3 separate regions of the Homo sapiens genome follow, and all the other regions are linked to region 1. Evidence: promoter capture Hi-C in 16 types of primary human blood cells and fetal thymus (Javierre and others, 2016). All regions are on one chromosome and are shown on one strand. Each heading gives the region's core, a stretch centred on a gene start or on the middle of the fragment in contact. The rest is flanking DNA. Distances are from core to core; before and after follow the strand shown.

Region 1 (3,414 bases), core at 832-3,331:
CTGCAAAGGCTGAAAGAGGGGCGGGGGAGGTGGAGGGCTGTTTTCTCTGCTTCCTCCCTTTCAGGACCATTCCCCAACCCAGAGGAGAGCCTACCAGCACCCACCTAGATCCTGTCCACTAAAAATGTCAGGTTAGGAAAAAAAAAAAAAAAAAAAAAAAAAAACCACACACACACACACAGCTCAGGCCTTAGAACCTGAAGTCACCAAGTAACAAGCCTCTCCTAAAAATTTATTCCCACCAAAGCTAAGCAATGGGAGGGAGACTAACCTGAATATTTTAAACTCTGCTGGGGTTTTCAAAGCACTGCCTCCCTTCGGGGCTTCTGAAATAAACCTTCTTGCCCACTGGCTGCTTTAGAGTGACAAGTGACGACGAAAGTAAGACACGAATGCCGGGTTGAGTTGCTGAAACGCTGCCCACGGAAGGCTATGCATCACCTACCCCCACAGTGTGTAGGGAGCCACAAGGTGATGGAACGGGCTGAATAAACACGAATCGTTTTATTGCTGGCCAGAAATTCTTCCCTTCATTCATCAAAGTAGGTGAATGAAAATATTAAGCAGGTAAGACATTTTCATGGGCTGCTCACCGAGTATCCTTCTAAACTCAAGCCCTTACTCAGTCTGCCTTCTACCTTGTATCAAATAAAGCGTTCTCCCGTGAAAGGGAAAAACCTCTTCCCCTTTTATGAAAAAGGTCGCACACTAGAGCTCAAATCTTGACCAGAAAAAAAAAAGGAAAATATGCGACATAAATTCCAGGTATTCCTAAATACATATGTTTACATGGACACAACACAATCATTTCAGGAAGCACCCAAGTTTCTGCCTCCCCCCCCTTTTTTCTGTTTTTCATCAAAAGGAAGAGTCAAAATATGCGTTCTTAGGGTTTGACTCAGGATCTTACACACTCCATTTAGACAATATTTCCTGCCAGCTAAATGCAGGAAATCTAATGATTTGCATAGAAAACGTATCTAAAGCACCAGCACACTTACCTTTCTTTTCTTAACTGAGCCAAAATCTAACAATTTCAGTTATCACACTCCCAGAAAAGAAAAACCTGAAATACTGAATTATTTTCTAGGTGGTCTGTACAGCCATCCTTTGATAATTCTATGAAAAGGCTAATTCCTCAACATCTGACTTTGCCTTTAAAAGGCTTCCTTCCACACGACGGGATTTCCCTAAGAAACATCCCAGCGGATGGTTTCCAGCAATAGTCTATATCAACTCAGCCTGCGCAGGCAAAGACTTGGCTTCTGCTCATTCCACCCCCGCCCCTCGAACACACACACCAGTTCACACAGAACCATCCCGGGCCGACTTGAAACGCTATTTTATGTGCATGTTTGCTCGTCGCTCCCCGAATGAATGCTTTTCCAACTGACCTTTCAACAGCTGCCGAGATGGCACGCTCTGCAGGGCGAGCGCTGGAAACTAGGAGATATGTTAGCATCCAAATCCCTGCAACCTTCTCAGCCCAAGTCCAGATTCTCTGAGCCCCAAGGCAGGAACCCTGAAGGGTCTGCAGAGCCGCTCTCCGAAGTGTCCTGCTCGCGACCCACTCGCCGGCAGCGGGCATCCTGCACGGGCGCAGCCCCAGCCCGCACGCCACCCGACACCCGCACCCTGGCCCGCGGCGGACGCGCCGGGCACGTACCGGCCCTGCCTCTTACCTTCCCTGGCTTTCAGCAAGACCGTGTTGGCCACGATGTTTTCCAGCTCCATTGACAGTCGGCGGTCAGCAACGGAGCCGGCCGGCGGGGCTGTCAGCGCCTGGGGTGCTGCCGCTGCTGCTGCCGCTGCTCGGGCTGCCGCCGCTGCTGCCGGAGCCGGGGGAGCCAGCAGCCCGCCTTGCCTACCGCATTATTCCTGCTCTCAGCCCAAGAGTTTCCCCCTCTGCAAAGAGGAGCCGCCGCCGCCGCCGCCGCCGCCGCCGCTTCTTCCTCCCTCTGTGTCCCCCCTCCCCCCTCCCTCAACACGCTCCCCCCCACCCCCCACCCTCCGCGTGTCTCTGTCACTCCATTCTCCTCCCCTCCGGCTCCCTCGGATGCTTTAATGCCTCGGATGCTTCTGCCTCCCCTCAGTCCCTCCCGGGGGTGTGGTACTAGCAGGCTCGGGCGGCCGCACTGCGCAAGCGCCGGCCCAGGCGCGCCTCCTGCCTCGGTGCTCGCGGCGCGGGGCCTGCTGGGAGCTGGAGTCCTCCCGGCCGCGCGGCGCCGGGGCTGAGCTGGGCTGGCGCGCGGCTGTCGGAGCGAGGACCCGCCCCGGGACGGCACCGAAAGCGAAGGCGGGCACCGCCCGGCCGACAGGCGACTCAAAGGCGGCCCAGCCAAGCCGAAGTCCCCAGCACCCCCCCGCAGGCTCCCGCTTGCCCCCTTCCCGCCCCGTCGCCAGCCCGGAAAGCGGAGTGCACGGGCCCCGGTGACGGCGCGTGAAGCGCCGCGGCCCGGCAGGAGCCAGTGCGGGTCCCGAGCCGTGCTCGGAGTGGGAGGGCTGCCAGCTCGGCCGCGCGCCACAGCCCGCTTCCTCCGGTCCGCGCCAGGCCCGCGAGGGTCTGAGTCCCGGGTCAGTGACGCGCGCCCAGGGTCCCCGCACGCGGCGGCGGCCGGCCCGGCCTGGCCCCTGCCCAGCGTCTCCCACGCGGCGCCTCGGGCCGCGGACAAAGATGCACTTTGTTTCCTCGGAGGGCGCGAAGGGCTCTGCGGGTCGGCTGCGACCCGGCGCTGGCTGCCCGCGCTGCTCTCGGTGCGACCCGAGCGCCCCCCGCCGGCCGCGGTGCGCGGCGCGGGGTCTACGCGGACGGCGCCTGGGGCTCAGGGTCCAGCGTGGGAAGCTGCTTATTCTGTGAATAAACTGCCTTCCAGCACACCCGGCCAGCAAATCCACGAGCCTCCCTGCAGCCAAACCCAGCCAGATTAAGTAATAAAAACGCAGACGGAGTCGCCGGAGTCTCCGCCGTGGGGAGCGTTAATGAGTAACAGCCAGGCCAGCGCCAAGCCGGCGTGGGATTAACGTTTTTAAATTCCGGTCTTATTTATTTTGGGGCTCTTAGCTCCTTCCAGTGTTATGCTCAGAACATCAGACTCCAGGTCTGTGCTCAGCCCCGTTTCCTTGCTCCCTCCGCTCCGAAGGCCCCACTCCTGGAAATGGGCTGTCTTCGGTCACCCGGGATCTGCCACGAGTGTCCTACAGCTGGGGGCGGGGCAGGCAGGCCCCAAAGAACAATGAGGCCTTTGCCTCCTCTGCATCCTGCGGGCCGGATATCCGTTCAGAAGCCGACTCTGGGCCTTCTCTGTCCAGAAGGAGGAAACCCTCTGTCCCCAGGGCTGCCAGGAAGTCGCAGGGAGGTGCCGAGAGAAACAGAGAACAGTTATTATGCATTGGAGAATATAAAGAAATCAATAA
Region 2 (3,281 bases), core at 667-3,166, 270 kb before region 1:
CTAGCTGGACCCTGAGGCTTCCTTCAGCTCTGAGAGTCTGTGCATTTACGTTTTGGAAGATGCTTCTCAAGAAAGATAGGAAATCGGGTGGGTGCGGTGGCTCACACCTGTAATCTCGGCAGTTTGGGAGGCCGAGGCAGGTGGATCACCTGAGGTCAGGAGTTCGAGGCCATACTGGCCAACATAGTGAAACCCCATCTCTACTAAAAATACAAAAATTAGCCAAGCGTAGTGGTAGGCACCTGTAATCTCAGCTACTCGGGAGGCTGAGGCAGGAGAATCGCTTGAACCTGGGAGGTGGAGGTTGCAGTGAGCCAATGTCACGCCACTGCACTCCAGCCCTGGGCAATGAGAGCAAAACTCCGTCTCAAAAAAAAAAAAAAAAAGAAAGAAAATAGGAACTCAAATCTTCATTTTCACCCGGAGGGAAGGTAGGAAACAAGCTTGAAAGGAAGATCCAGGAGAGAAAAAAATACTCAAAAAGGCACGATTTGTTTTGACACTTGCATGGGTTTTAAGTTTGAACCCAGGAGAGCTTTGAGGACAACATTAAATGAAACAATGGCAGTGGGGTAATAAGTATTAGTCTGCGAGCCTTCCTCTGTTACCAGCTGCCTTTGAAAACCCCGTCATTGCCAGCTGGCTTACATCATCTCCGCCCATGGAAAAAATGCCAGGCAAAGCTACATGATACAGGAAGGGGCAGAAGAGGGAAGGGAGAAGTGAAGGGGGTGCCAGGGTGGCTGCCAGGGTGAGAGACATGGATAGGAGAGAAATGAGGATTTTAATAGGCTCCCAAACCAGGTACAATGTCTCACACCTGTAATCCCAGCACTTTGGGAGTCTGAGGTGAGAGGATTGCTTGAGCCCAAGAGTTTGAGACCAGCCTGGGCAACAGTGTGAGACCCCCATCTCTACAAAAAATAAAAAATTAGCTGGGCATGAAGGCACATGCCTCTAGTCCCAGTTACTTGGGAGGCTAAGTAGTGGGAGGATTGTCTGAGCCTGGGAGTTTGAGGCTGCAGTGAGCCATGATTACACCACTGCACTCCAGCCTGGATGACAAAGTGAGACCCTGTCTTTTAAAAATAAAAATAAAGGCCAAGCGCAGTGGCTTACACCTATAATCCCAACACTTTGGGAGGCCGAGGTGGGTGGATCACTTGAGGTCAGGAGTTCGAAACCAGCCTGGCCAACATGGTGAAACCCTGTCTCTACTAAAAATACAAAAAATTAGCTGGGTGTGGTGGCACATGCCTGTAATCCCAGCTACTCAGGAGGCTGAGGCAAGAGAATTGCTTGAACCCAGGAGGCAGAGGTTGCAGTGAGCTGAGATTGCACCACTGCACTCCAGCCTGGGCAACAGAGTGACTCCTTCTAAAATAAAATAAAATAAAATAAAATAAAATAAAATAAAATAAAATAAAATAAAAATGCATTAAAAATAAAAAAATTAATAAATTATTAGAACTTGGTGTTGGGCTCTCCTTCAGAGTGCTGGGGAAACAGAAGAAAAACACACTGGACTGTGCTTCTCCAGCTGCACAATGGCTCGAGACTGGACCATGTGGGTGCTGGAGAATGTAAGAGTTACTTCATTGATCCTTGGGCTTCATGAGGAGAGAGGCCTGGGGAATTGCCACTGGGGAGGAGTTAATGCTCGCTGCTGTAGGAGGTGGGGTTAAGAGGCTTCTTCTTCCCGTGATTTACCTTAGGAATGGCACTGTCCTTGTGGCTGCAATTCCTGAGGCTCTTCCTTAATGACGACCCCCACTGTGTAGATCACAAAGACTTTCCCTTCCAAGTGGCCTCCCGCCAGCCTCACAGCAAGTCTAGAAATACACACACCAGGATCAACATGCCCATTAAGCAGATGGAAAAAGTACGACTCAGAGGCATCATGTGACAGCTACATCAGGAACACGGTGGCATCTGAGCTCACTTTATCTGACGATGAATCGGGCACCACTGCTTGCCCCATGGATGCCAGGCTCTGTCCATCTGAACTTGGATCAGATTGAACTCGGAGTTGGTTTGGCTTCACTGTTCCCAGAGCAGCTCTCAAGTAACTTTGGCACTCGGGCTGAGTTGTCACTCTGGTTTCTTTCCGTGACTTTCTTTGCTTGTTGTCGGCACTTTTAAAAGACCTATTGAATTGTTTGTGAAAATGAGCGACAGTACATTTGCCAAAGCATCATGTGGGTGGCGGCATTCTGCTATCTATTCTGCACACCAAAGCAATGATGCTGCTAATTACATCTGTCCCGTCTGGCTGTACCCGTCTGCCTCTCTGCCTGGCTCAGCACTGTGACTGTTTATGGTGTTCCCAGCTTAGACGTGAGAGGGAGGAGGGCCAGGGAGTCAAGGGCTGTATCCTCTCCACGGTGTTCACACAGAGCCAGGAAAGGCTGCTGTGGCTGAAGTTCTGATTTCTCGTTTTTTTCAGTTGTTGATGGGAGTTGGGGTAGAAAGGGAGGAAGATGTTGCTCCTTGGAAGCAAATGGCATGGGGAAGACACCCTGAATTACAACTGAGAAATGAAACCTCTACAGTTTAACTTGCAGCAAGTTCAAAGGATGTGTTAGGAAAAATTGCAGGTGCTGGTTCTGTGGTATTTGGGGTTTAGATGAAAAAAATAAGTAAACAAACTAACTTCATAGCTCATCTGAAAGAGGGCCTGGCTCAGAGATCATCACTTCCCACAAGAACCCCCTTCTATGGGTCCAAAGGAGGCAAGGATGATGGAAGGAGACAGAGGGAGGGAGAGGGGAAAATCACATCTATTTTTTGGAAGAACGTCAAAGGGAACTCAATAAAGACCCATCCCGTTCACCCAGCTTTCTCTATAGAAACAGAGCTGAGGACTGGATCTGCTATTACATCAGAGATGGGGCAGGAGGAAATAATTTTCTGATGTTCCAGTTTTGCTCAAGTTCAGGCTGTAGAAACCACAGTTTCTTAAGAGGTGGAACCGGTTCACTGGACTTTTTTTTTTTTTTTTCTGTGATGTAGGAAGAAAGGTTCCAAGATGCTACAAACCCTGCAACACTTACTTTAAGTATCCCAGAGGTCTGGAGTGGGAGGAGGCTGGCTGACCTCTTTACTTCTTCAGTTCAGATGCTTAGGGACAGAGGTCATGTGACACCTGTTCCTCTCCCCCCGCCACGCCCCTGCCACACACACAGAGAGACCTGCAGTGAGCAGGGGGCTCTGATGCCCGGTCCTGTGACCTTTCCTCTGCACCTTTGGGTCTATGTAGATTGCAATTTCCTGCTCACCCT
Region 3 (3,355 bases), core at 814-3,313, 310 kb before region 1:
CCACTGTGCTGTGCTTCAGGCTGGCAGGGCAGCCACACCTGGGAATCTGGGTGCCAAGGTGAGCAGGGCTGGGAAAGCCCCTGTAGGACTTTAATGGAGTGGTTGGAAGGAGGGGGTCAAACTTTCAATGTGCCTCTTCCAGCCTTTCAGGTCAGGCAGGTCTGGTGTTGGGTTGCCCTGCCCTGTCCACATCCTACAGAGAGAGCTTCCGAATGGGCAGCCCCTTTCCATGCCTGTACCCCTGACATCCAGCATAGGACTTCTTTTCCTTTTTTGAGACAAGGTCTGACTCTGTTGCCCAGGCTGGAGTGCAGTGGTGAGGTCTTGGCTCACTGCAGCCTCCGCCTCCTGGGTTCAGGTGATCCTCCTGCCTCAGCCTCCCGAGTAGCTGGGATTACAAGTGTGTGCTACCATGCTTGGCTAATTTTTGTATTTTGAATAGAGACAGGGTTTCACCATGTTTGCCAGGCTGGTCTAGAACTTCTGACCTCAAGTGATCCGCCTGTCTTGGCCTTCCAAAGTGCTGGGATTACAGGTGTGAGCCACTGTACTCGGCCCAGCATAGGACTTCTTGAAAGTCTGTGTCCTTAAGCCTGGAATGCACCCGGCAATTGCTTTAGAGCAATGAATGCCACCCTCCTGTCACTGCCTGAGAATGCAGATTGGGTGGAGGCATTGGTGACACCTGGGGTGTTTGGCCTGGAGTGTTTGGGCCCCAGTGTGAGTCACTGTTCCCATTCGAAGATGCAGGGATATGACTTGAGTGGTTAAGCGGCAGCTCGCCCGAGGCTGGGCACAGTGGCTCACGCCTGCAATTATAACACTTTGGGAGGTCAAGGTGGGTGGATCACTTGAGCCCAGGAGTTCAAGACCAGTCTGAGCAACATGGTGAGACCTTGTCTCTACAAAAAATACCAAAAAAAAAAAAAAAATTAGCTAGACATGATGGAGTGCGCCTGTAGTTGCCCAGGGAGGTCAAGGCTGCAGTGAGGTATGATTGCGCCACTGCACTCCAGCCTGGATGACAAAGTGACACCCTGTCTCAACAAAAAAAAAAAGAATTCAGAGCCACATTTCTGACTCCAGGCATTCCCTAGTGAGTCCCGCTGCCTAGGAAGTAAAACCAGGGAGTAAGCTCTAAATTACTACAAAAAGTGTGGAGGAACATAGGCACTGGGAGAAGTCGCCTAACTGAATGTCTTTGTTTTTTTTTTTTTTTTTGAGACGGAGTTTCGCTCTTCTCGCCCAGGCTAGAGTGCAGTGGCACGATCTCTGCTCACTGCAATCTCCGCCTCCCGGGTTCAAGTGATTCTTCTGCCTCAGCCTACTGAGTAGCTGGGATTACAGGCATGTGCCACCATGCCCAGCTAATTTTTGTATTTTTAGTAGAGATGGGTTTCACCATGTTGGCGAGGTTGGTCTCAAACTCCTGACCTCAGATGATCCACCCGCCTCGGCCTTTCAAAGTGCTGGGACTACAGACGTGAGCCACCGCGCCCGGCCAGTTCTTTTTAATCCTCTGTTGTGCACGTAACCTAACTGGATTTCACAGTCAAACTTATCACATCTGTTCCAGCAGGGAGACCATGGGAGGATTTTTCTCTCTCCATCAACTAAGGCTGTTGAGGAGTCGATACAAATCCCACTCTCGCCTCTGTTGTTTTAATAGGACCTGTGTTGGTTCATTCCTTGACGTGGATTATCCAGCATTCAACAACTTCACATATCCATGTCATTTACTTGTCCGTCTTCTGTGTGGTTTGTCTTCTGGAATCTGGGAGTGGGGGGCCTCTTCTTCCCCACTGTCTCCGAGGGTCTAGACCCATGCCTGACACATGGTGAACTTCCTTCCTCTTTGTAGGATGAAGGCATTCCATTTCCTGGATCCAAGTCCTCTTCTCTCCTGAGTCATTCCCTCATTTTGGGAACAGCACACGAGAATGACTTCTTCCCTCCAGAATGACTCATGAGAGAAGAGCCCAAAACACAGCTGGCAATAGCTTCCTGAGAAGGGGGGTCTGGCAGGTAGGTATGTAAAGACCTTGTTGAGTGGAAATGTTATTTTTTTCCCTACTCTCCTACTTCACTGATAATCTGACAGAGCATAGAATTCTGGGGTGAAACACACTCAGAAGTTTGAAGACATTATTCCTTAGTCTTCTACTTTTGTTGAGAATCAGTAATTTATATGTAAACTGTTCTGTTTTTTTTTTTTTTTCTTTTTTTCCCTCTCTGGGATAGTATAGGATCTATTTTCTTTTCTATTTTTCCCCTTTCCTCCTTTCCTTCCTTCCTTCCTTCCTTCCTTCCTTTCTTTCCTTCCTTCCTTTCTTTCTTTCCTTCCTTCCTTCCTTTCTTTCTTTTTTTTTTTAATGGGGTTTCGCTCTTGTTGCCCAGGCTGGAGTGCAATGGCATGATCTCGGCTCACTGCAACCTCTGTCTTCCAGGTTCAAGCGATTCTCCTACCTCAGCCTCCCAAGTAGCTGGGATTACAGGCACCCTCCAACACACCCAGCTAATTTTGTATTTTTAGTAGAGATGGGGTTTCGCCATGTTGGTCAGGCTGATCTCAAACTCCTGACCTCAGGTGATCCACCTGCCCTGGCCTCCCTAAGTGTTGGGATTACAGGTGTGAACCACCACGCCCAGCAATTTTCTTTTCTTTTCTTTTTGAGACAGGGTCTCACTCTGTCACCCAGGCTGGAATATAGTGAGGTCACGGCTCTTTGCAGCCTGGACCTCCTGGGTTTAAGCAGTCTCACCATGTTGCTTAGGCTGGTCCCAAAAGAAATCCTCTCGCCTCAGCCTCCCAAAGTGCTGGGATTACAGGTGTGAGCCACTCCACCTGGTCAGGATCTTTTCATCACTAGTATTCTAAAACTGTTCAGTCAGGGGCTTTGGAGGCAGAGGCGGAGTTCATTCATTGTGTGAATTCTTTGTGGAGCCATATAATCTGGAAATTTGTAGTTCTGGGAAATGGTCTTATGTTGTTATTGTTATCATCATTTTAGTAACTTTTTTTCCTTCCATTGTCTCTGGTCTCTTTTCCAATGATGACCTTTCACGCCCTGCATTGAGCCCTTAATTTCATGTTTTATTCTTCCTATTTTTTAATTTTTTTTTTTTTTTTGCTTTTGGAGATTTTGACTACATCTTCAGATCCTCCTATTGAGTTTTTTCTGCTTTTTTATTTTTCCAGACAAGGGCCCTCTAGTCTCTTCCTGGGGGGCCATAAGCCTGATATGTTCCTGAACTAAACATATTTCTAATTAACTGTGTCAGGAGAATTTTGCTGGCGCGGGGGGTCTATATTTGGAATTTCCCTGAATCCCTTTATTCGGTTCGGCGTCTCATT

What was found. Contacts are between HindIII fragments. The CHiCAGO score rates a contact against its expected background, and 5 or more counts as called.
Region 2: a fragment that was not itself captured here is called in contact with the fragment with the promoter of GRK5 in region 1 in 14 of 17 cell types (fetal thymus, naive B cells, total B cells and 11 more); the score reaches 12.4 in fetal thymus.
Region 3: a fragment that was not itself captured here is called in contact with the fragment with the promoter of GRK5 in region 1 in 6 of 17 cell types (total CD8 T cells, naive CD4 T cells, total CD4 T cells and 3 more); the score reaches 8.8 in total CD8 T cells.

What each region holds. Positions count from the first base shown.
Region 1 is chr10:119,206,238-119,209,651 of GRCh38, reverse strand. It overlaps GRK5 (G protein-coupled receptor kinase 5), which reads right to left and starts at 2,081. Exons shown (of 16, transcript NM_005308.3): 1 at 1,683-2,081. The coding sequence starts at 1,734. GRK5-IT1 (GRK5 intronic transcript 1) reads right to left here and starts at 1,231. Exons shown (of 2, transcript NR_186528.1): 1 at 1,002-1,231. RefSeq lists silencers at 1,655-1,704, 1,755-1,824, 2,035-2,864 and enhancers at 3,205-3,314, 3,335-3,384. The HindIII fragment of the contact is 5,116 bases long and covers 1-3,414 here.
Region 2 is chr10:119,478,258-119,481,538 of GRCh38, reverse strand. No RefSeq gene overlaps it. Among named protein-coding and RNA genes, the nearest start is that of RGS10, 63 kb to the left of the region's middle. RefSeq lists an enhancer at 1,467-2,046. The HindIII fragment of the contact is 2,942 bases long and covers 446-3,281 here.
Region 3 is chr10:119,520,585-119,523,939 of GRCh38, reverse strand. The region is part of intron 3 of RGS10 (regulator of G protein signaling 10); the gene reads left to right. Among named protein-coding and RNA genes, the nearest start is that of RGS10, 20 kb to the left of the region's middle. The HindIII fragment of the contact is 8,074 bases long and covers 1-3,355 here.